Regions from separate parts of the Homo sapiens genome. Here regions 1, 2, 3, 4, 5 and 7 are each linked to region 6. Evidence: promoter capture Hi-C in 16 types of primary human blood cells and fetal thymus (Javierre and others, 2016). All regions are on one chromosome and are shown on one strand. The core of a region is centred on a gene start or on the middle of the fragment in contact, and the rest is flanking DNA. Distances in the headings are between cores, read along the strand shown.

Region 1 (3,852 bases), core at 1,020-3,519, 2.7 Mb before region 6:
TTGGACTTTATAATGGTGTGAAACTGATAAGCATTCAGCAGAAACCATATTTCTAATATCCATACGATGATTCTGTTTTTCATTTTCAGTACAGTAGTCAATGCTTTATTATAAAACAGATTTTCTGTTAGCTGGTTTTGCCCAACTGTAGATTAATTTAAGTGTTCTAAGCATGTTTAAGGTAGGCTAGTCTAACCTATATTGTATGGTACGTTAGGCATATTAAATGGATTTTTTACTTACAATATTTTCAATTTCTAATGAGTTTAGCAGGCTGTAACTCCATCATTAAGTTGAGGACCATCTGTATACAGTCATGCACTGCATAATGACTTTCTTGCCAATGACAAACTACATATATGATGGTGGTCCCATACACCATAATGTACCTAAAAAAGCCCTTTTGCTTAATGATGTAGCCATTGTGATGTTGTAGCATAACTCATTACTCACATGTTTACGGTGATGCTGGTGTAAACAGACCTACTGTGCTGCCAATCTTACAACAGTATAGCACATATAATTATGTACAGCATATAATACTTGACAATAATAAACAACTGTTATGAGTTTATGTATTTACTATACTTTGTTACTATAATCGTTATTTTAGAGTGTGCTCCTTCTACTTATATATAAAAAAAAGTTAGCTGTAGAACAGCCTCAGGCAGGTCCTTCAGGAAGTATTCCAGATGAAGGCACTGATATCACAGGAGATGACAGCTCCATGAATATTACTGCCCATGAAGACCTTCCAATGGGACAAGATATGGAGGCAGAAGACAGTGATACTGATCACCCTGACTGTGCAGGCCTAGGTTAATGTGTGTTTGTCTCTTAGTTTACGGCAAAAAAACTTTTTAATTAGAAAAAATTTAGAAATAGAAAAAAGCTTATAGAATAAGGATATGAAGAAAATATTTTTGTACAGCTGTATAATGTATTGGTGTTTTAAACCAAGTGTTATAACAAACGAGTCAAAAACATTTAAAACATTTTTAAGGTTTATAACGTAAAAATGTTACAGTAAGCTAAAGTTAATTTTATTATTGAAGAAAATATTTTTAAATTAACTTAGTGTAGCCTAAGTGTATGGTGTTTATAAAGATTACAGCAGTGTACATTAATGCACTAGGCCAAGCTTGTCCAACCTGAGGCCCACAGGTGGCCCAGGACACCTTTGAATGCAGCCCAATACAAATTCGTAAACTTTCTTAAAACATTATGAGATTTTTTTGTGATTTTTTTTTTCGCTTATCATCTATTTTTAGCGTTAGTGTATTTTACATGTGGTCCAAGACAATAATTCTTCTTCTGATTTGGCCCAGGGAAGCCAAAAGATGGGACAACCCTGCCCTAGGCCTTCACATTCACTCTCTACTAACTCACTGACTCACCCAGAGCAACGTCCAGCCCTGCAAACTCCATTCATGGTAAGTGTTCTAAATAAGTGTACCATTTAAAAAAATCTTTTATATGCCATTTTTACTGTTCTTTTTCTATATTTAGAAACACAAATACTTAACATTATATTAAAACTGCCTACACTATTCAGTATGGTAACATGCTGTACAGGTTTGCATGCTTCCCTAATACCATCCCCTTCCTTCTCTTGCTGAAGCACTGTCAGTGACATGTTTTAAAGAAGATAATAAAAACAGTAGCACAGCTTTACATGTGTTGAATGGTTAGGAAATATATAAATACCATAATAAACATGACATTTTATCTTAAAAAAGATTGTCTGCTTGTGGAAGTGGAATTCAGAAGAGTTGCAGCTTGTGAGTTATTATCAAGTGGTGCAAGGAGGGTTATCCAAAATCTGCCAGAAAGTTTTAACAGCAAGAGTAAACGTCTTTTGTTTAACACAGAAGTTATGTATAGATACATCTTCACATATATGCACACAGAATGAAGTACAGTCAAATAGACTAAGAATAATATTGAGGCTAGCAAAAGTGATAGTGTTCAGTGACAGTCAACAATGGAAATTTTATGCATAAAAATAAGAAAACTAATTACAAACACATTTAAAAATTGGGACAAAATATACACAGCAAAATGCATAAAAGGCACAGTTTTTATTCATTACTTTTTATTTCTGAAAAAATTCATAACTTTATATGATCTTTTGTATTTATTTTTTATAGTTGTACTTTTTCTAAACAGGTGAATTTGCATTAGATTTTAATTAAAAATTTACGTAAGTCTTGAAGAATTTTCTTCAAGACTTGGAAAAGCACAATTCATTTGCAATCATTTCTAAATTTATCAAAATGTGATTCTGATATACGGTAGTGTATTCATTCCTGAGAAAATACTTCCTTTTGGTAACTAGAGCAACCAGTGAATAAGCCAGAAAAATAATGAGTGTTATCTCATATATGATTTTATATGAGTGATATCTCATATAAAAGGAAAAGCACATAAAGGACAGATTATTACCCTTTATATCTTGGAAGATAATATAAGCAAAACAAACAATTCCAAAACTGACATATTTACTGATTTGAAGCTGATCAAATTTTGGTACCAAATATTATACTAACTACAGACCTGCAACCATCTAAAATTCATCTAAATACTAATGTACAAACCATCTTGAGCAGCCCAGAGTAGTAATTAAATTGTTTTGTGATGAACAGGCTAAATTTCTTATACAAAGGAGTCAATGCTTTATAAATGAAACCAAAGGTGAAGTATTTCTGAATACTAAGACATTTGACTGTGTTCCTGTAAAGAAGTTATGAAGTAAATGTACCAATGTATAATCTAAAAGATCTATGGCTTAATCACTATAATCTTCCTGTTTCAGAGGATTACAAGGAATTTTATGAGGGTGCCTCATACCTGGTCATTACACACGATTCTTACATACATCAATCTGAAATTATTTTTATCATAATGTTAATATTATCTGGGTTCATAGTTACTAAAGAAAATGATATAGAGACTGAAGACCTATGGTTTTCAATCTCTCAAGTCCTTCAAAGATGACCTGTAATCTTCCACCATGTCCATAGCATACCCTTCTATATCCTCAATAATTATTTCAAACCTTTGGCAGTCTTACCTAGTCTCTAACCCATTAGGTTGAACAACCTTGCTACCTACCTTACAAAGCAGTCAGAAGCCTGTCCAACTCTACTGCATCACACCTGAATCTTACCTGATTCCCTTACGTATCAGTAGAGGAAGTAATCTTCCTCAAATCCCAGGCCAATAATTTTTGCTCCTATGCTGTGGATCTAATTTCCTTCTGCTTCCTTGGAGACCTTTTCCTACCAGCATTTCAACAGGGATTAAGTCTTTTCCTCCTCTCCCCTCATATCACCTCTCAACTCTCGTATTTTCTCATCTATTCTCATTTTATGACTTGTCCTTACAGTCAAGCTTCTCAAGTTTCCATTTCCTCAACTTTCACTTACAGGTCTTCCTAGTCTAATGGGCCCTCACAAATCACCAATGACCACCTTAACAAATCCAACGGATTCATAATTTTATATATCTATTAATCCCTCTAAAAATTAGCCTCTGTAATTCTTTTTTTTTTTTGGGTGGGGGGGTGATACTCCTCCCAATTTTTTTTACAACCTTCTCTTTTGCTTAAATGTATTACATAGCCCTGCTCTTTGATTTCTTCTTTCACTGTTTATATTCTCCTATAATTCATATCAATAATTCCAAAATCTGCATCTCAGAGCTAGTCCTCAAGTTCTTGAATCGTATTTCCAATTCCTATTAGTCCATGTCAACTTGGATTTTCCAGACATCTCAACCTTGAGTCAATCCTCTCTCTCTCCATTTACCCATTCTCTACTATTACTTTAACAAGTGACTTCATCAGTAATT
Region 2 (3,428 bases), core at 661-3,160, 2.8 Mb before region 6:
TGTGCTACAAATCCACAGTGCCCAATATCAATTGATCCTTTGACAGTACTCAGAAATAATTCTGCATATCACACATGTGGTTATTCTCTCATTTATCTCAATAACTATTTAAAATCTTCATTGGGCTGGGCCCAGTGGCTCACGCCTGTAATCCCAACACTTTGGGAGGCCAAGGCAGGTGAATCGCTTAAGCCCGAAAGTTCGAGACCAGCCTGGATAACATGGCAAAACCCTGTTGCTACAAAAATACAAAAAATTAGCTGGGCTCGGAGGCGCACACCTGTAGTCCCAGCTACTTGGGAGTCTGAGGCGGGAGAATCCCTTGAGCCCAGGAGGCGGAGGTTGCAGTGAGCTGAGATCACACCCTAATGTACTCCAACTTGGGTGACAGAGCAAGACCCTGTCTCATTAACAAAAAAAAAAAAAAAAAAAAAAAAATCTTCACCATTCTTTAGGCTTCCTATTTCACTACTGCTCCCTTAATATCAGCAGAATACCTATTTCATCTCAAAAACAGAAACTACTGGGTGGGAAAATCTCCAACTTCCTGTTCTACTAACTTCTTTGAATCCACATAGGTACTTTTCTGTCTCTTGCAACACATGGAAAGAAAGATGTCTCTCTTCTTATTCAAAGCTAACCTTAGCGTCTATGTTCTAAATCCCATGCTCTTCTGCTTTCTCTGGGACCTAAACCAAGCAATTATTCTTTCTTCCATTTTATCTCAACTCTTGCATAAGCATTGGAATATAAAGTCTCTCAAAAAACAAGGGTACCTCATTGCTTTCCCTCTAATTATCTCCCCTTCTCCTCTATTTTATAAATAACTTTATTAATGATATCTATATTATCATAACTTCCTTATCTCCCATTTACTTCTCAACCCTCTTGCTGGCTTGTCTTCGCCTCTTTATTTAACTTGTTTCCAAGGTTGCCAATAATGTTGTACAACTTATCAGTCTTTATTTTATTGACCTCTTTGTAATATGACTGCTGACCACTTTCTCCTTAAAAAATTCCCTTTCCTTATAACACGACTACTTTTAATTCTTTTCTATTGCTGTGATCATATTCCTCTTTTGAAGTTCTCCTACATTGTTCTTTAGAGTGTTGTCTTTAGCCTTCTTCTCAATTTTATATGCTCTCCTTGGAAGAGGCAACAGTGTCTCCTGATTTGCTTTGGCCAGTCCTGGATTAGCCTGCTATCCTAGTATAATTATTAATGACAGTCCCTTCTATTTTCAAGAGTTCTTGTTTAGATGATAAATCACGGGGTCACCTTAGCCTTAAGTAATCTCATCCTTCTAAAACACTATCATTTTCATAGAGCTGATTGTCCAATTTATAGCTAAAGCAGTCTCTCTCCTTTGGTCTAGATACACAAATTCAATGCCTACTGGATATCTCTACCTAAGTGTTCCTCATGCATCTGTAAGTCAGCATATCCAATACTAAACACAGGTTTGGGTCATGTTAGGCCACCACGTTCAATACTAAAATGGATTCCTTCTTCAACTTGTTCTTCCTATATATTCCACTAAAACAGCACTGCTGTCTCCTCTTTTCCTGTCAAGTAAACTTGGCATCATCTTTGAATATACTTACACATTTTCACTTCCTACATTCAACTGGTTCTTCAAACTGCCATCCTGACAGAGTTGAAGTGTTTGTCATTTGTCTGTCGTCTGATCATTAAAAGCTTCTTACCTGGTCTTAGTACTAAGCCTTTTCTAACTGATCTCTGTGCTACCCAGAATCATCTTTCTGAAACATAATTGTGGCCATATAATATCTATACTTAATAGTCTTTAATGGCTTCCCTAGTTTTTAGGATGAAGTTCAAACTTCCTATACTGGCATCAAAGTTCTTCGTGATCTAGCTCCTGCTTGCCATATTAACTACTGTAGATTACAGAAGTGGGCCATGTCCTCTTCTCCCATAAGTTCTTTGTACATGCCATTATCTTGGCCTATAATGCTTTTATTTCTAGTTTTCACCTGCTTATAACCTAATTGTCCTTCAGAATTTATCACAGGCCTCATAACCAGTTTGGGTAGGTTACTCTGTGTTCTCTTGCAGCACCCTGTCAGAGCAATTTTCACACTGTATGACAAGCTTCTTGAAGAACAAGGACTAGAAACACCATTATATTTCTAGCACCTTGCACAGCATAAGAGCCTAAGATATAATATATATTCAATATTTTTCCTAATAAGCTTCCATGACCTAAATCAACTTCAATGACGGGAAAACTCAACAAATAGGGAAACTCAGCTAATTTCACTTTTCTTACAAGCTGGTCAAAGCATAGTGTTAATGAAATGAGGTGATCATTTTGTATTTGAGTTGTTACTGCCTCTAAATGGAAAAAAGGAAAAAAAAAAAACACAAAACACAAAAACAAACGAATTTCTCTGTGCTAACCATGGCTCTAACCTCCGCAAATTTATATTATTGGTCACCAAATGAGAAAAGTGATAAGTCAATGAAATTCACATTGCTGGAAAAATAATTTAGAGCCCAATTTATGGAAGAGCACTTATCATATACCTTATGGACTAATGTGTAAATTAATGCAATTTGCCACTATTGATATAGATTACCTTATATTATTGGCATGGGAGAATATTATCTCTAACAAATGTGCTGTAGAGAAATAAAACATCTACATTTATTTTTTGTTGCAGTAAATTTATACTTATTATTCTACGCTCTCTTGCTCCATTACACTCATTGGTGTATATCTGCAAAGTTATAAACTAGAGAGGTAAGGATGTGGTTTGGCACTGTTATAGTTTCTCACCATTGAAAAGAATGTTGACAATCTTGTACTTATAAACGAGTGAATAAGTGAATATCTAAAGGATATAACTTTAAAAATGTGAACACATATTCCCCAGGCCAAAAGTAAAAGCAGGTCTTTATTGGCTCTGCTCACAGATAAGGGATAGTACTTAGCACTCTCCAGTGAAATACTGATATGAGGGCATTGTGTTCAATGAGTTCATAAAGAAAACATAAAGCAGCAGAAAAACAAATTGCTTAAATTTGCATAACTGAGTACATACCTAGTATCTACTAGACTTTAATTACTTTGAATAAAAGGACTGTGTGTTTATGAACACTACATATACCCTGTCTTTGTTGACAATAAACCCAAATACATCCCTGAATGGTAAGATCATAATTTTGTTCAAATATAGCTTTCATATAGACATCGTGACTATTATGCACTAACAAACTGAGCTATTTGGCTAAAAATTTACAGAAAACAATCTTCTAAAGCAGGAATCATATCTTTTTTGTTTAGCCAAAGAGCTTTATACTTAGTAGGTGCATAGTTAAGTATCTTGATGAATAAAATTTTTGAATACTTCTTGTGCATTAATATTTACCAGCCACAAAAGCTGGAAATACAAAGGTTTAC
Region 3 (3,585 bases), core at 878-3,377, 2.7 Mb before region 6:
CCAATTACTCTATATACAAAAACGTGACATTAATGAGAGACAATAACACTTATATTTTAACTTATAGACTTACAGATTTCTATTTTAAGGAAATTCACTTTTTAAAATAAGGTGGTACTAGGTTGGGTGAATTAAGAATTTTTAAATGTTCTTTAACTTACAATAGCCAGCGGGGACTTATTTGTCATTACCACAAGCCAAGGTAAACATGGGTGTCCTAGGAAATGTCCAATTTCCCCACAGTAATAAACATCTAACATTATAATAAAAACAATAACTTTTTTTTTTCTTTTTTTGAGATGGAGTCTCACGTTGCCCAGGCTAGAGTGCAGTGGCCGGATCTCGGCTCACTGCAACCTCCGCTTCCTAGGCTCAGGCAATCCTCCCACCTCAGCCTCCTGAGTAGCTGGGACCACAGGCGTGCCACCATGCCCAGCTAATTTTTTTGTATTTTTGTAGAGACGGGGTTTCACCATGGTGCCCAGGCTGGTCTGGAACTCCTGAGTTCAAGTGATCCTCCCTCCTCGGCCTCCCAAAGTGCTGGGTTACAGGCGTGAACCACCCTGCCAGGCCAACAATAACTATTATTAAGTCACTTGAAGATTCTATTTTTTTGATATAATGAAACAAGTATGTATTTACATCCTTAGGGATTTCTATCATACAAACATAGTATATAGCCTACCAAAAAAGAAAAAAGAGACTAAGACTTAGATCAAGGTTAAATTAAGGTCCTAAGTCTGCCACCTATTAGCTTAACTGAAAATGATCCCAATATCACAGCCTTTTGTCAGGAGTAAAGAGCAGAGATAAGAGGATAACTAAAATTTGATATCTCATAAATATGAAATTCTTAAGATATTAAAACGAATCAAGATAAAATCCTTATAATAAAATTACTGTCCATTTTACAGCATGAAGATAATGAGGTGCAATGATTTAAATTAACTCTCCTCAAAGCCATACTGCAAGTTGAGTGGTGAAACTGTGACATAACTCAGGTCTAAATCTTACTGTTCCTTTCACTATGCCATACTGAAACACTCTATGAATTATATACTACTGTTATGGTAACAGTGGAAAGTGAAAATATGTTTTATTATAATGAAGAGGCACATTATGCTTCCCAAAAAATAAGGAATTTTAAATTATGTTACATATTCACATATTTAAGTTATTGTAGATGCCACTTGATATGGTCGACAAGTGTGAAAATGTCCACATACATCCTTCAGTATTTTAAATGTATAACCTTTGGTATTTTACAAGTTTGAATATTAGCAGTTAGTTAAGCCTCAAGTGGACTTATCTACTTTTTGCAGGCCTACATTATCTTTCAAACAGAAGGGAAGGGCTGCACGTCTAACAGAAACGCTGCCGGCTTCTATCAAGCCACCACTAAAGCACAAGACCACGTGGTCTCTCATAAGCCCAAGGTTCCCTACTCCTCTCCCTCCTTTGACAAGGAACTGGAAACTAGGGTTTCTTTCTCTTATGTGGAGCCCTGACATGCCACCTGTGTAGTACAGACCGCAAACATCCTGCAGCCTGCCTCCCGGAAGACCAAGAATCAGAATAAAAGGGAACTTGGACGCCGACAATTCTAGGAAAGGAAATGAACAGAGAAGTAAAGCCGGTGAGATCGTGATAAGCCGCGGCACCGGGACCTGTCAAAACGGCGTATATAAGACTCAAACCAAACCACTATAACCTATCATTCGGGAAGGCCTGAGGTGGGAGCGGCACTACGGAAGGAAGGAGGACGAAGAGAACCGCACGAGTCAGAACCGCCGCCGCCGCCGCTCCCCGGATACCTTTCAGCATGCCCTGGCAAGCCAAGAACCCTGACCCTCATCTAGAGTCCAACCTTTGCCCCAACATTTCAGAAGCGGCCAAAATCCCGCTGCCCCGGCGGCCGCCGCCGGACCTGCCCGCACCTGTCACTAGCGAAAGAACCAGCTCGCGGCTCCCGCCCACTTCTCCACTATCCTCGGGCAACCGCGGGCATCTCAACCCCTTTCTCTTACCAGGTGTCCCCTTTCCGGAGCGAGGTTTTGAGCAGCGTCGCGATGTCAGACCGCTGGGTGTCCAGATCCGCCGCTCCGCCTTCCGCCATCTTCTTCCACTAGCGGTAGGGGAGGTGGCAGCGACGGCGGCGGCACGCCCCAGAGCATTATGGGAATGGCGTCCCACGGCCCCTCCCAGTCGGCCGGTCGAAACCAAAAGACACCGGGAGCGGGGGTGCTCCTCGGGACAAGAGGAGGCCCCGGGGGCGCACTGGGTGCGCGGCCATGGTCTGCTGCCCCCCATCGGTCCCCGCCCGTCCAGCATCTTGCCTTGGCCTCCTCTGGCCCGGGACTGCCGGGTTTTAGCTTTCCTCGCCGCCGAGGGCTCTGGCTCTCTCTCGCTAGAGGGATGCCACCGCCCTGTCCTCCCGTCCTCAGCGTTGCCTTCCCCTCCCTCTTTCCCACTGACGCCTTGAAAACCCTTATTTGCGCATTCACTCACGCTTGAGGGTGAGGTAGGGTGGGGCGGTGGTGTGGGGGCGTGGGGACGGCTAAGATATGGCAGAAAATGTAGCAGCTCAGTGACTGGGCTTTTCGTTACGAGTGGGAGAACCCAAGCTCGGTGAATATGGGCACACACAAAAAACACTCCGAAACCGAACGCTTGGTCTCCATGCCCTTCCTGGGTTCCTTCCAGCGCTCTTACTCCCGTTGTAGGTGGGGACCCTTTATAGGCTCTTTGTGACGCCTCCCCAGGCACACCCAGACGACTAAGCTGCAGTGAAAAACATGTCCCAGTTCATCGGTGAACAGGGAGTAGAATATGGACAGTATTGAATAATGCCAGATACTAAAGGAAGAAAACGTGCGAGAAACCCTCTTGTTTATACAGGATAGTAACATTTTCTTAGCCCCATCTTCGTATGGTGCCGTACACCTGAAATGAAACTAGATATGTCTTTAATTTGAAGTCAACGATTATGTTACAAAATAGAAAATCGAGTCGCTTAAAAATCAAATGCCAAGGTCACACAGCAGGTGGAGAGGTGAGTGGAGAGGCTGGTTCAAGAGCCCACATGCTATACAGTATAGCACACTCACTGCCTCTCCTTCTGAAAGCCTGAACTAAAATGTAAACTCTTTAAGAGCTGGAACTGGGTTCATCTTTTGTTTTAGCCTTTGTACACCTGGTGGTTAGCACAGTACTGATGGACATGTAAAAATTACCTAAATATTTGTTTAGTAAATGAATTGTGGCAAAATTACTTAAGTATTCCCGAGCATGATGTCCAGGGGTGTGATTTTAACATACCATATTGATGTGAAAAGTCTAAAAGATGGGCCGGAATCCCCACATCATTTCTCGTTTGCCCATTTTAAACCCTAACTCATTTGGTGAGAATGCGATAAAGGTAGGTGTAGTTATGCTAGTAGGAAGTGCTGAATCCAAGTGAAAGTAGTGTATATTGGCATTATGATTTGTGTATATCAGTATTATGATTATGATTGCTTATTTCTGCGTAATAATACTATTTTGCATTATCATGCCAACCTTGAATTGAGAGTTTTAAAACAACTT
Region 4 (3,473 bases), core at 654-3,153, 2.6 Mb before region 6:
TCTTCAAGGGTTTATTCAAGCCTACAATCTGTAAGTCCCTATGTCAGAAAACAACTCTGCAATGAAAGCCACCTTAGATCTCCATGCCTGATAATTAGGAAGCCAATTAAGTATTATTTACTGGCTAAAATATTACACAACAATGGAAACAAGAAATTATAGTGCAACGAATAAATGCAATAGTACTTATAAATTCAGACTGCCTGAGTCAGCCATCATTTGCCTGGTAAGTCCACTCAGGTTGAGGTCAAGCTAAAAACTTCTTGAATCTGAGAATTACATTTACCTCTCCTGGAGAAATGCTTGGCTGCTATAATGGTCATGCTTTTCTTTGATTAGCAGCCAAGAAAAATTAGTTTTATGGCATCAAAAGAAAAATAGGGATAGTTACAGTCCAAATAACAATTGCTAGTATTTCCTATCTTTGCTGCTTGCTTAACTACCCTTGATTCTGGGTCTGCAACTCTCCTCATGTGCTGCAAAGGGAGTGTCTGAGCCTAGAAATGAGTTCTACTGTTCTGTGTTTGGTGCTGGTTGGTACCAAAACCGAAATCAGACATACTTCCTCAAGGAGTTTATATAACATGTTGCAAAAGTAGACAGAATAAGCCTTTAAAACAGTGGTCCCCAACCTTTTTTGGCACCAGGGACTGGTTTCCTGGAGGACAATTTTTCCACAAACTTGGGTGGGAGAATAGTTTTGGGATGAAACTATTTCACTTCAAATCATCAGGCATTAGATTCTCATAAGGGGCATGCAACTTAGATCCCTCCCATGCACCGTTCACAATATGGTTCATGCTACTATGAGAATCTAATGCCGCCGCTAATCTGACAGAAGGTGGACCTCAGCTTCTCTCACTTGCCCACTGCTCACTTCCTGCTCTGCAGTCTGGTTCCTAACAGACCATGGACTGCTACCGGTCCGTGGCCTGGGGGTTGGGAACCCCTGCTTTATTGGATGTATTCTATAATGGATGCTATTTTTCTGGTCAACCATTGTAGATGCCAAAATTTGAATAAAATAATTGAATGGAATCTATTCATTCAACTAGTTGTCATGATTCCCAAGGGCTTTATCTTGGGACTTAGTGATAATATTAATAAAAATAATACTAGCAAAAATAATACATTATAATAATTTAAAAGCATATGTGAGCATTACAATTATAAACCATACAACAAACTACATTAAGTTTACTATACAGTAAATTAATTATTGTTAGTTTTTTTTTTTTCCCTGAGACAGAGTCTTGCTCTGTCACCCAGGCTGGAGTGCCATAGCGCTATCTCGGCTCACTGCAATCTCTGCCTCCTGGGTTTAAGAGATTCTCCTGCCTCAGCCTCCAGAGTAGCTGGGATTACAGGTGCACACCATCACGCCCAGCTAATTTTTGTATTTTTAATAGAGACAGGGTTTCATCATGTTGGCCAGGCTGATCTTGAACTCCTGACCTCAGGTGATCCGCCCACATCGGCCTCCCAGAGTGCTGGGATTACAGATGTGAGCCACGGAGCCTGGCCCAGTTTTGTTTTTATTATTATCATTATATAACATATTTAGTATATATTTATGTACGATAAATATATATAATTATGCAACATATATATTTGTTATATAATATATATAACTAGAAACATTTTTTATACTCTTTCTCTGTCCTTCTTGGAGAGTAGATCTTTAGTAATGTTGAGAGAAGCATTGGCTGACTATTCTAGTTATCTTTTCTGCGTAACAACCCACTTGAAAGTTAGTGGCTTAAAACAACAACAATCATTTATTTAACTCATGAAACTTCAATTTGAAAAGGGCTCAGTGGGGACAGCTCACTTCTGCTTCATGCAGCATCAGATGGGGTGGTGTATAACTCAATGGTGGGAGATTGGAATCATTTGAAGACTCACTCGGTCACATATCTGATGGTTAATACTGGCTGTTGCATAGGACCTCAGTTGGGGTTCTTGGTCAGATGGATCACTTACACATGGCCTCTACAAGCAGCTGTTTTTCTTTTTTCACAACATGGTGGCTAGGTTAAAAGAGGGAGCATCCCAAGAAAACAAGGTAGAAGTGCATATCATTTCTGTGATCTGTTCTTGGGAGTCATTTAGCATCACTCCTACCCTGCTCTTTTGATTGAACTAGTCACAATTGTCCACCAAAACTAAAAAGAGGAGCTATTAATTGATGAGAGGAGTATCACTGTCATTCTGTAATGAGATTTGTATTATAATGTTTTGTGTAAAAGTCTAAAGATGAGGATCAGTGCTTATAATTCAGGGGCCATTAGCATACTAATGGTAGTTAAAATACAGAGATAAGGTGGAATTACTTAGGAAGAATACATCAAGAAAAAGATGTGAACCAAGAATGAACAGCACTTAAGAGGTGGGCTTGTGGTATGAGATTTATTGTGGTGGTCACCTTTAGAAAATATAATCAGCCCATTGCAGATAGAAATGGAATAAACCTAAAGAAAGAGCTAAATTTATCTTCACTATAGATTGAACAGTCAGGGAGAAAACTCTGGAGGTAGAAATAACTGAAATTGGCACAGAGGGAAAAAAGGGAGTGAAAGGCTGGCTTCTGTGGAAAGAGAAATTCTGTGAAAAGATCTAAAGTCTTCAAAGGGAATTTGGAAAAAGTTTTGTTCTTCTGTTTCATAAAAACGTGCATATTTATAAATCGTCTTGGAATCAGACATTTGTTTTCTGGAATTGCAAAGATGGATTATAATTGGCTTAGAGGAAGCTGCAGTGGCAGAGCAAGAGTGGTCCAAGGATAATCAGTCACATTTAGGATATATATAAATATACAGAAAACATACCTACGTATCCATATACTGTATACTGTAGTTCTGCTGATAACTTGTAAATACAAGTCATTATAGATTAGGTTTAGTTCAACAAATATTTAGTAAGTACTTAGAATATTTCAGACAATGCTAGTTATCAGGGCTAAAAAGATAAATAAAGTATAATTTCTGCTCTAAATCTTGTGGGATGGTCAGATTTATAAATTGAAGGTTTCAATTAAAATTACTGAGTATTAAGGGTTTGGATTGTGGAATCAAAATGTCTAACTCTGGGCAAGTTACTTATCTCTCCAAGCCTCAGATTTGTCATTTGTAAAATAGGAACATAATAGTTCCTAACTCAGAGAGCTGTTGGGAGGATTAAATGAGATAATGTAGGTAAAATATTTAGCACAGTGCCTGGCACATGGAAAGTGCTCACAAAAACAAATGGTTATTGTTGAGTGATGTAACCAAAATGTGAAGTGGAAGCAATCTGGCTTCACTCTTCCCCACGGAAAATTGAAAACAAATATCTGGTGCCAAGATTATAGCCAGCAGTATCCTAGAATTTAAATTTGGGGCTGAGATGACCCCTAGGACCACAAAGCACTGAGAAACTCTGAGAAGACAATAAGAGAAATGGACTTTTCTACCCATCAAGCCCCTCCTTCCATC
Region 5 (3,747 bases), core at 304-2,803, 2.9 Mb before region 6:
TTATATTACGCTTATGGGAGAAAGAACACAATGTCAAGAGGAAGAAACCACATTATAAAATACTAAACCAAAACAGATCCCAAGTAAGCTCGTAAAGATTATCCAGCCCTCATCTTCAATGTCATAAGGTCGTGCAAATGAGGTGTTAACCCAACCAGGAGAGCCAATGACATTAGTCACAGTCCCTAAATATCTGATTAAATGGCAAATCCTGTCACAGTAAGTAGAAGGCATCTCTTTCACTAGGGGTCTCCCTAAGCCAGTTAACAAAGCAAAACACCTGGATACTGAGGAACTCTATCACAAGAAACCTTTGCTTTTCTCTGCCAGCCAATTTCTATTAGGCCTGAATGGGTAACAGGAAACTTAAACTACATAGCCTAGGAAGACTACTTGCACTTTTAAATTATTTATACCCTTACTGATTCTGCATCATTTAAAAAGAGAGAAAAGGAATCTATCCAATTCCCTAATTCTGACCACCTAAACTCAAATGAACTTCTTTCCCTTTACTCTTCTACCACCCATTCCCTGGACTTCATCATCCTCTAGTGCTGGGCAATCTGAAATGCAATATTCCCACCATTGTCCCAACTCCTATCCTTCTAGCTCTCTCACTCCCCAACCCCACTGCTCTTTGATGAAATAGGTGCTGCTAGCCTTTAACCTTCCCATCATCATCCAGTCAATCCAAACTATTGGCTTTCCTTCTTTGGGAATCCAACCTAGCTCTCACAATCCACCATTATTTCAACCACTCTTCCTGCTAAGACTCTTAAGTGTTCCAAGACAATTTCTCCTCCACTTCTCCAAAGTGATCCACTGCTCTCCTCAAACTTGCCACCCCCTACTTCTTTTATCACTTAATTATTCCTACTAACAAGCTTGTTTCTTATCTTCGCAAGAAAGCAGAGGCCACAGACCAAACTGCCCACAACTTGTCGCTCCCTTCTGTCAAATTTGTCACATTCAAACCCGGTTTTTCCTTTGTCCTTCCTCTGTCAGAAGGTAATGTGTCCTTTCTCAGATTGAAATCCTGTTCATATACTTATGCCACTGAAACTTCAGTTTTCTCAAGGACCTTCCTCTAACGAGTTTTACCTTTCTCTCCTGTATCTTTAACCTCAGTCTGCCCAGCAGCCTTTTTCTTTAATGTTGTTTCCCACAGTTCCTTTTCCAGTCCTGATATTCTCACTCTATACACACACTCTTCCTGGCCCATTTCATCCAATTCTATGGTTTCAAATATTATTTATAAACTGATACTCCTAAATTTGAAATTCCAGACTTCCCTCTTAAGTGCCAAACCATCATTTTCAAACACCTACTGGTCAGTTCCACTTGGATGTCACACATAAATCTTAATATAATGACTACTCTGCTGGGTGTGGTGGCTCACGCCTGCTATCTCAGTACTTTGGGAGGCCGAGGCGGGCAGATCACCTTAGGTCAGGAGTTCGAGACTAGGCTGGCCAACATGGTGAAACCCCGTCTCTATTAAAAATACAAAAAATTAGCCAGGTGTGGTGGCACGCGCCTGTGATCCCAGGTACTCAGGAGGCTGAGGCGGGAAAATCACTTGAACCTGGGAGGCGGAGGTTGCAGTGAGCCGAGATTGTGCCACTGTACTCCAGCCTGGCAACAGAGACTCCGTCTCAAACAATATACACACATGACTACTCATTTTCCCCCAAAACATTTCCTCCTCTTTTATTTCTTCTCTTAGTGATCCACCTAGTTTCCCAAGCCAGAAACCTGGGAGGCATCACACATTTCTCTCTCTCCATTATATAAAAGATTACCATGCCTTGGTAATTTTTACCTTTTCAATCTATACGCTCTTTCACTACTGTCTAACTCAATGCAAGCAACCTTCTGTCTATGTCCACTACTGCTTCAAAACAGAGAATCATCATTTTTTAAACTTTGCTCTCTTTGCTTCAGTCTCAATACCCTCTAATTCTTCCTACCAACTGTCAAGGCAATGTTACTAAATATCAATTTGATCATATTACTCTCTTTCAAAAAGCTCTAATGGCTCCAATCATCTTCAGTATAAAATTTATTTTACATGGAATACTAACAACGTGTGCTATTTCCTCTGCTAGGAATGACTCCCCTCCTCCAACTTCCAGGCTCAGTTAGATACCCCTCATCTGTACCTGCAAATAGGAAATAATAAGAAAGTTTTTATTCATGAAATACATAAACATAAAGCTTCAGAGTTGTCTTCCTCTAAAGGCCACTGAATATTAATCACATAGAAGTGATCATGGAAGGCTTCAAAGTAATTTTTAAAACAAAGGAAAAAATTTCATACAATATTCCCAAATTAGCTAGTACAGTTGTACTAAAAAAAGTTATACTGCTAAAACATGAAGATTTATGTATAACAACTAAGAAAAATAGAAAAAAAGAGAAAGAGGTTATTATAAAATGACAGAATAAAGCCATAGCCACTACAACAACAATTTAATATACAAAGGATAGAGTTATAAATGAAAACAGTAAGGTAGGAAAAACCATGTAGAAGTCCAAAGACAGTAAGTAAATATCAGTAAATAAAGCACTATTCTTTATCAATACTCTTTTATTGGTTTTTCTAACAGATTTGAAATCTTTAAATCCAGCTTATTATTAATTTTAAAAAAGAATTACATGGGCAGCCTGGGATACGCCTATAATCCTAGCACTTTGGGAGTAGGAGGTGGACAGATTGCCTAATCGCAGGAGTTGGAGACAAGCCTCGGCAACATGGTGAGACCCTGTCTCTACAAAAAAAATACAAAAATCAGCTGCGTGTGGTGGCATGCACCTGTAGTCCCAGCTACTCAGGGGGTTGAGGTGGGAGAATCACTTGAACCCAGGATGTCAACGCTGCAGTGAGCCAAGATCCTGCCACTGCACTTCCAGCCTAGGTGAAAGAGATCCTGTCTCAAATAAATAAATAAATAAATAAATAAATAAATAAATAAATAAAATAATAGTCAAGCACTATGGCCATAAAAGACAGAAATGACTAAAAATTTGAAATAAAGACTAAATATAAAATGTCTCTGTTAACTAGCTTCTTAGACTTTGCCTTAAAGTTTAGTTGGCAACCAAAGAGAAAAATAAAACCAAAATCCTACCAGTTTCTTGAAGAACAAAAGCCAAAATCTGGCACTCTTATTAATTTAACAGAGAAAATTTAATTCAGCCAAACTATTTCTTGAAAGTCAAACCTTTGTCCTAAAACTTCATCATAATTAGGCTAATGACTCTCTTTGTTTTAAACCTATGACACAGTCAAGATCATTTTTCAATTCCTAAAGTAGTGCCCAGTGTCATTGGGTAAGAAATCAAAAAGCTTTCATTCAACAAATTCTTATAAACACGTACCATATACAAAATTATGCATCAGAGATAATCACAAGAATTACTTTTGCTATTATCTCAAAGACTAGGTGCAATTACAAAATATCTCTCTAGCCAGTGTTCAAGTAAAAACCAATAAGCTTTTTTGTTAGTTTGTTTTGAGACAGGGTCTCCTTCTGTCTCCCAGGCTGGAGTACAGTGGCACAATCACCACTCACTGCAGCCTTGACCGCCTGGGCTCAAGGGATCCTCCAGCAGCTTCTGGCTGGGCATGGTGGTTCACACCTGTAATCCCAGCACTTTGGGAGCCAGAGGTGGGCAGATCGCTTGAACCCAGTTCAGGAGACCAGCCTGCCAAAACCCCGTCTCTACAAAAAAAAAAAAAAAAAA
Region 6 (3,645 bases), core at 283-2,782:
TTCCAGTAACACAACACATTCAAGCTAACCTGTCTGTGGAAAGTTTGCAACCCTCTGAGTTCAGACTGGGGTTAGCCATGAAGCATGGGGTGACAGGAAATGGCATCCAGTAGTCACTCTTTCCTCTGGGTCCAGTCTTTTTCCCATCACTTTCATCATTGTCCGCTATTTTATTCCTCTGCCGCATCTCCTTTGGGACCCAAGAGGGAAGGAGGACACGAAATAATACAGGAAAGGAAATCAAAAAACAATTGTAGAGAAACCACTCCTCGTTTCCTCTTCTATGTCTCGTGTGTGTGTGTGTGTGTGTGTGTGTGTGTGTGTGTGTGTGTGTGTGTAAAATTTTAATTTCCCTGGAATTGGAACTACAGAAGTCCCTCCTCAGCCCTACCGGGAAAGTGGCACTGGGCACGACCGCCCTTTCCAAGGCAGTCTGCAATCCTTTTCGCGGAAGTAGAGGAGAAAAGGGGGTGGAGAAGGGCGCCGCGATGCAGCATCCGCTGAGAAAACAGGCAGTTCGCACGTGAGCGGGCTCGCAGCCTGTGGCGCCACCTGACCGGGCCTGGCGCCCCCAATGTGGTGCAGTGGCCCAGCAAGACCAGAAGGCTCAGGCCCTCCTGAACCCTTGCCAAGTCAGAGGTCCCTTTCTGCCTGGGCTCAGGCCTCGCCCGCATATAGTTTTCCATCTGCTTCCACCCCTGCCATCCTTCCTGGGGACCAAAAATGAAGAAAGACAACCCCCCCATCCCCCGGTATTTCGTCTTCCCCTCACAGCCTCTTCCTGTCCTGATCATCTGCTCAAAGAGAAGACGTTCTCTCCACACACTCCACCCCCGCCTCCACCTTCTGCGGCAATGAAGCCACGCCACCCTAGGGGGCTCGGGGGCCGGATGCTGGCGGGGCGCGCACTAGAGACACGCCGCACTGGAAGCAGCCCTCGGAGTCCCGTGAGCCAGGGAGACTGGGGTGCACCGCGCCACGCTGAGTCTCGGTGTAAAAGCCGAGAGCGTGAGCACCTCCTGGCCGAAAGCACGCGAGGCGCTCCTTGCCCAGGACCCCGCGCGCCCCCTCAGTTCCCGGGCAGCTGTCGGCGCGCACTGGCTGACGCGAGCTCTGCTCCCGCGGCCGCTTCGGGATTTTTTTGTCTATATAAGGGCTCGCTGGCCAACTCTGCGTTGGCACGTTTGTCACAGGCTGGCCATTATTTGCACACACGCGTGCGGCTCCGCGGGCAGCTCGGGTCGCAGACGCAGGCTCGCCCTCCTCTTAGCCGGCACCTCCTCCTCCTCCTCCTCCTCTCCCCTCCCTCCCCAGCTGTACTTACTTTATCTGGTCTCTGGCGCAGGGTGGGCGCTGCAGCCCTCCGTTCCCAGCAAACCGCAGCCGATTCGCCTCGCTGTCAACGGGTGAATGGAATTATTTATTTATTTATGGCCCCTGACGTGTCCTCGCCCGCCACAGCCAGCGGAGAAGGAGGCGGTGGCGGGAAGGGGAGGCGCGGCTGCTGAACGCCCTTGTGGGTGCGGAGGAGCGCGCGCCAGGGGTGGGGGCCGGACAGGCTGCGGTGGAGGCCGGCCCGGGGGGTGGTGGGGGGGAGCCGCCTCCCGGTGCCTGGAGACCGACTGAGCATGCTCCAAGCGGCTGTCAAAGCTATAGGCACTTTCTCTATCGCTCGGGGCACTCCACTTCGGATTTTAGTTTTGACCAAGGAAGAAAGCCAAAAGGCAGGTAGATCTGTCTTTCCAGATGGGTCGTAACTTGCTGTATCCGAAGTACTCTGTAGCCTGACCTAGAAGACAGATGTGCGGTAGCTCTGTGCAACCCAAGCATGGGAGAGGAAAGCATGCAAAAAAAGAAGAGTCTGGCCGAATGCAGGGAGAATAGGAGATCCTCATTGTGAGCTTGCAGGGAAAGTGTTGAGCCATTTTTCAACTGAGGCCTTTTTGGGAGAAAGAGGTAGGGCACTGTTGGAGATTAGACTCACCAACCAAATCACTTCACGGAAAAAAATATAATTGACACCATAGGAGGAAGGACATAGAAAACAGCACCAAAAAACATTAAAAATAAGAAGGATTTTTTTTCAAATCATTTATAATTCCTTTCATTTTTAATTTCTCAAATTACTTAGTTCTTCAAACCAGCATTTAGTTATTTGACAACGAATAGTGCTAGAGATAATGGTAATTCTGCTGTCATTGGTTTGGTCTCTTCCCCTGTCTAAAATGTGCTTCTTGGTAAAACTGGAAAGAGGAAGGGCTGGAAGAGAACATTTAAGTAACCCCATAGATTGGGTTTCTTTAATATCTTTAAGTTAAATTGCCACTTTAGAGAAAAAGAAACTATCCAAAAGAATAATTGTAGGTTTTGGCTTGACAAGTCCTATTGCAGTTTGTCTACCAGTTTAGCTAGCTTTCTCCTCCTTGATTTCACAATCATTTTAAGGTGTGTTCTATGATTCTTCACATTTTACGAATTTATAAAAAGAGTTAAGTCATTTGGGTAAATTCACATTGTCTTTGCCACAGCTAGTCTGTTGTAATGGACGAAATTTGAATTTCAATTTCTGTAGCTATGAAATAAAAGTAATATCAATCGTGTTGATTTCATAAGATTTAAGTGAAATAATATACATGAAGTGGCTGGTAGGCATAATACAAGATGAAAAAATAATCGTGATTAATAACATCAAAATTACTGGAAGATAATTTTATTGAAAGAATGATATTTGAAAATGAAAAAAAGGCAGAAAATTACAGAAAGGATTTTATATTTTTAAGCTAAAAATGCTTAAATAGACATTTGTATAAGACATAATAGGCCTTTGATAATGATGAAATGTCTAGCAGTGACTATAAACACTTCATTTAATTAAAAAAAGTTAAACATTTAAAAGAAACAACATAAAGGCACATTTCAAGGTCATAGTCTTGAGTGTTTGCTATTGATATTTTTCCTGCTCATTCATCACTTTTATTTCCTGTCAAAGAAGAGGAAGAAGAAAGACCATATGCTTTCTGAATTTTGATCCTATTCTCCCTTTTCCTTCTCTTTGATTTTTCTTTTTTGTTGTTTTTTTCTTATAGTCCCATGTTCTTGACCTGTTTAACCTATTGCTGAATGCCAAACATCACTACTTATAGCATGATATCGTAACCTTCTTTTTAAGTCTTGTTTTTTCAACAATTAAAACTCTGGATCTAATTTACCTACTGTCACAGAGTTAGTATTTGGGAACTCATTTCTAAATTGCTTTGTTGTGATAGCTAGGTATGTTATGTAAAATTTGATTGGACTAGAAAGGTATCTGAAAGGAGGGAGAATCAGCTAAGAATAAATTCAGCCAGTTTATCCTATGACTTACAGTTTAATATTGTTAAGAAATTGAGAAAAAAATACAATTTAGGGAAAAAATAAGCCATATGATTAGAACTTGGAATGCTCTGGTAAAATGTTTGCCTTGATTTATATTCATAAGCTGAAATAACAGTGGGAAAAACAAATAGCAATACACTTAGCATTCTAGCAACTCATATTCCACAGATGAGCAAACTGTGAATACGTACATCACATATATACTCATGAAGTCCACATGTCTTTTACTATATACCCACATCCTTGTGGTTTAGGTTCTTTCTCCCTTCT
Region 7 (3,690 bases), core at 619-3,118, 2.7 Mb before region 6:
AGGCTGGTCTTGAACTCCTGACCACTCAAAGTGCTGGGATTACAGGCATAAGCCACCATGCCCAGCCTACTATTCACTAAATATAAGTGAATATTCACTAAATATAAGTGAATTCATTAAATATAAGTGTTATATTTCTTATTTAGGTCTTTAATCCTTCAAGAGTTAGCCTTTGCATATAAAGTTGAAAGTAGGGATCTAGCTTTTTTTTCCAAATAGCCAGTACTCCTACTAAATCTAAATAATCATCTTCTTTAAGCAACCTCACTACCTAGTTGTGCCACATCATATACCAAGTTGTCAAATATACATGAATCTTTCTGAGATTACTAGTTTATACCAATCTATTTGCCTTTCTTTTGCTAGCATTATGTTGTTTTTATTAGTATAATTTTACAGTAACTCTCATTTACCTTGTAGGTCTAGTGTTCCTTCCTTCCTCTTTCTGTCAAAACTGACTCAGCTAATTCTGGACCTGTATTGGTCTATGCTAACTTTAAAATGAATTTGTCAAGTTTCTAGGAAAAAAAAAATTTTGAACAGGAGACACTGATGTGCTTTAAAGAAAACAGGCATTACTAGGTTAAGCCATATATCACATAACAATCTTTTATTTTCTAATAAACTTAGATTTTTTTTTTCCCATGAAGGTTTTATGCGTTTTTAATTAAGTTAATTTTTGTTAGACTATTTTCTAAGTGGGTTTCTCATGATAAATGGCAGGGGTTAGAAATTTATGGCTCACAGGCCAAATCCAAGCTTGCCATCTACTTACAAAGAAAGCTTTATTGGAACACAGGCATTGCCATGTCTTGACATGATGTCTAAGGCTGCTTTCATACTACATCAGCAGTTATAGTTATGACAGAGACCATATGGCCCACAAAGCTGAAAACATTTAAAAAAGATTGCTGATCTCTCGGTATAGAAAAAACAACTGCTTTTTATAAATTAATCTTATATTAGACAACCTTGCTGAATTTTCTCAGTTCTAGTAGTTTGCTGTTTTGGATTTTATACAAATGACTATATCATATACGAATAGTGAACTTTATTTCTTCTTTCTTATCTTCTCCTCTTACTTAAATTGTGCTCAAAATTTCTCAATGAAATGTAACTTTTGCTATAGACTTGAGGTGCACAGGATGTATCAAGTTAGAATTTCCCTTTATTCTTAGTTTTCTGAGAATCTTTTCATACATAGGTGCAGATCTTTTTCTGTATTACAGTAAATTATTATTTGGCAATTTATGACATATTACTGCATAGTATTTCTTAGATTTTATAGGGAATGGATATTTAACTTTTCTATGCTTTAGTATATGGCATCCTTATTCAACTAGTAGATCCAGTGAAAAATAGGACTCTTAATTGTACTTTTGTCATCTCTAGTACAGCACCTGTATTCACCAATATTTATTGCATGAGTATGGTGTGTTGGGTATTACATAGGGAATTCTGTTTTCTTTCACACAAAGCCAAGTACTAAAGTTGTTGGAATAAATAAAAATGATATTGTGCTATTAGGGAATAAAAGAAAATATAAAATTAGTCATCTTTTGGGCAAAAATCAGTCATTTTAAGTAGAAAAGATTTCTCAATCTTTAGAACTCATGGGTTTTTTTTAATATTAATCCACAAACAATTTTGTAATTTCAAAAATAACTTAAAGATATAGCAAGTACATAGCAATCTAAACATTTAGGAAACAACAGTGGTTCTGCTTTGAAGACTAAAAGTAAATGTTCACAAAAAATATTCCTATCTAAACCTTCATCAGTTATGAAATCTCCATAATTCAACCCACATGCTTTTAATATTAACATCTTCTTAAAAGTTCTACTTTTATACTAAGTTCTACCCTTGTACTGCATCCAACTAAGTAGGGTAAGAATAAAAATCACCTCCATGTAATTAACATATTTAGGTGCCTTCTCATGATATTTTTAAATGGGAAAAAAAAATTTCACGTAAGATAAAAAAGGATAGAAAACCACTTATAAAAGGTACATTGTAGTTTTATTTTATTTATTTATATTTATTTATTTTTTGGAGAAAGTCGCATTCTGTTGGCCAGGCTGGAAGTACAGCAGCACGATCTCAGCTCACTGCAACCTCTGCCTCCTGGGTTCAAGTGATTCTCATGCATCAGCCTCCCGAGTAGCTGGGATTACAGGGATGCATCATCACTCCTGGCTAATTTTTGTATTTTTAGTAGAGATGGGGTTTCACCATGTTGGCCAGGCTGGTCTTAAACTCCTGACCTCTTGATCTGCCTGTCTTCGCCTCCCAAAGTGCTGGGATTACAGGGATGTGCCACTGCACCCGGAGGGCATTGTAGTTTTAAATCAAATAAAGTAGCAGATTTTTTTATTCACTTGGTTAAAATGTACTAAATTGTTATTAGTTTTTTAAAAATATCATTATTTTAAGAATTTCAAAATATATGTTCACAATCCCTTATCAGAACATGTGAAATTCCAAAGCTCCAAAAACTTAAAAATTTTTTCACAGTTCATTTGGTGGCAACCTAACCTGAACTGATATAATGCTATTTATAGTCCTTATTTATCCCACTTAGTGTGAATATTTGCTGAAAAAATATTAATGTGTTTGATTATAAAGAAGTGTCCTTTTGCAGAAACAGAAACATTACAGTAATGGAGGGACATGTACCATATTACTTCTTAGAGCTTTGAGAAGTCTGTATATTTAAACACAACTGGCCTTGTGTTTTGATAATGGAGTGTAGATCTATTAGTTCTAAAACAGATAAAAAGATTCCTAATTCTTCTTTCATTTACCCTCAAAAATACCTCATATACTCCTCTACCTCTATTTGTTCTTTTTTATTCTAAAACTTTTCATTTGAATAAATATATTACTTTCACATCAGATTCATTTTGATAAAGAAATATTTTAAGATACTTTTAAAAACCACGAAAAAGCTTCAAGAAATTAAACAAATGTTTAATGATTTGACTGTATCAGACAACGCAACTTTCTCATTTATACCATACATTTATACTATGCCTTAAGATATTTGAATTGGAGGCTTTTAAAATAGTAACATATTAATTAAGAGCAAATTTAGATAGCTTGTATACTAAGAACAAAATACTCAAATATAAACAAGGCATGAATTTCTGCAATACACATCTAGGTTCTTCTATCATTGTGGATTTGATTATCTAGCATCAAGGGCTTCAAAATCATACAATAAGCCATAAGAAGTGGGAGCACTTACTTAGGAGTAGAAGGACCCCTTGGCCATGTTCCATCTTCATTTTTCTGTTCTATCACTAATACCTGCAAATATGACACAATAAAAGGGTGTTTTTCCATAACTCTGAAGTTAAAATAACTTTAGAAGATAGCTGGATAAACTAAGAAACTAAAGTAACTCTGTGATTATTTAAAGGAAAACAGTAGACAAGGTGAACAGGTAATCTGCATTTCGATTCCAAAGCTAGGCAGGTGAGACTAAAAGACCTCAAATAACAAGAAATCAGTAATGATAGTGAGAAGGAATCCTAGAAGATAAACTGTAAAGAAACTATTGGTTCCATTAAGTATAAGAAAACTTAAACCAAGTAAACAGAATATAAATTCCTTGAATTTAGAGAATATATTTTCTATTTGTATTTGTAGGTTGAACAGAGAACTCTGTAAATAACAGATGGTCAATAA

What was found. Contacts are between HindIII fragments. The CHiCAGO score rates a contact against its expected background, and 5 or more counts as called.
Region 1: a contact is called between a fragment that was not itself captured here and the fragment with the promoter of SLC16A7 in region 6, in 1 of 17 cell types (total CD4 T cells). The highest score is 8.6, in total CD4 T cells.
Region 2: a contact is called between a fragment that was not itself captured here and the fragment with the promoter of SLC16A7 in region 6, in 1 of 17 cell types (activated CD4 T cells). The highest score is 8.2, in activated CD4 T cells.
Region 3: the fragment with the promoter of USP15 here is called in contact with the fragment with the promoter of SLC16A7 in region 6 in 5 of 17 cell types (total CD8 T cells, total CD4 T cells, activated CD4 T cells and 2 more); the score reaches 9.6 in total CD8 T cells.
Region 4: a fragment that was not itself captured here is called in contact with the fragment with the promoter of SLC16A7 in region 6 in 4 of 17 cell types (non-activated CD4 T cells, total CD4 T cells, total CD8 T cells and 1 more); the score reaches 18.7 in non-activated CD4 T cells.
Region 5: a contact is called between a fragment that was not itself captured here and the fragment with the promoter of SLC16A7 in region 6, in 4 of 17 cell types (naive CD8 T cells, naive B cells, total CD8 T cells and 1 more). The highest score is 7.1, in naive CD8 T cells.
Region 7: a fragment that was not itself captured here is called in contact with the fragment with the promoter of SLC16A7 in region 6 in 2 of 17 cell types (naive CD8 T cells and non-activated CD4 T cells); the score reaches 7.2 in naive CD8 T cells.

What each region holds. Positions count from the first base shown.
Region 1 is chr12:62,275,106-62,278,957 of GRCh38, reverse strand. The region is part of intron 1 of USP15 (ubiquitin specific peptidase 15); the gene reads right to left. Among named protein-coding and RNA genes, the nearest start is that of USP15, 17 kb to the right of the region's middle. The HindIII fragment of the contact is 2,252 bases long and covers 1,144-3,395 here.
Region 2 is chr12:62,385,128-62,388,555 of GRCh38, reverse strand. All of the region lies in intron 11 of USP15 (ubiquitin specific peptidase 15), which reads right to left. Among named protein-coding and RNA genes, the nearest start is that of MON2, 80 kb to the left of the region's middle. The HindIII fragment of the contact is 417 bases long and covers 1,702-2,118 here.
Region 3 is chr12:62,258,946-62,262,530 of GRCh38, reverse strand. USP15 (ubiquitin specific peptidase 15) reads right to left here and starts at 2,127. Exons shown (of 22, transcript NM_001252078.2): 1 at 2,028-2,127. The coding sequence starts at 2,116. It overlaps MIR6125 (microRNA 6125), which reads right to left and starts at 2,172; the gene lies at 2,077-2,172. It also overlaps a transcript of TAFA2 not described here. RefSeq lists enhancers at 1-397, 398-898, 1,622-1,671, 1,892-2,251, 2,802-2,871 and silencers at 2,292-2,401, 2,482-2,541. The HindIII fragment of the contact is 15,091 bases long and covers 1-3,585 here.
Region 4 is chr12:62,238,188-62,241,660 of GRCh38, reverse strand. It overlaps a transcript of TAFA2 not described here. Among named protein-coding and RNA genes, the nearest start is that of MIR6125, 20 kb to the left of the region's middle. The HindIII fragment of the contact is 6,086 bases long and covers 1-3,473 here.
Region 5 is chr12:62,469,116-62,472,862 of GRCh38, reverse strand. All of the region lies in intron 1 of MON2 (MON2 regulator of endosome-to-Golgi trafficking), which reads right to left. Among named protein-coding and RNA genes, the nearest start is that of MON2, 4.2 kb to the right of the region's middle. RefSeq lists an enhancer at 3,212-3,712. The HindIII fragment of the contact is 1,333 bases long and covers 887-2,219 here.
Region 6 is chr12:59,593,916-59,597,560 of GRCh38, reverse strand. SLC16A7 (solute carrier family 16 member 7) reads right to left here and starts at 1,532. Exons shown (of 6, transcript NM_001270623.2): 1 at 1,325-1,532. RefSeq lists enhancers at 724-873, 924-1,063 and a silencer at 1,534-1,603. The HindIII fragment of the contact is 11,642 bases long and covers 1-3,645 here.
Region 7 is chr12:62,325,491-62,329,180 of GRCh38, reverse strand. USP15 (ubiquitin specific peptidase 15) reads right to left here. Exons shown (of 22, transcript NM_001252078.2): 6 at 3,248-3,309. Among named protein-coding and RNA genes, the nearest start is that of USP15, 67 kb to the right of the region's middle. The HindIII fragment of the contact is 2,165 bases long and covers 786-2,950 here.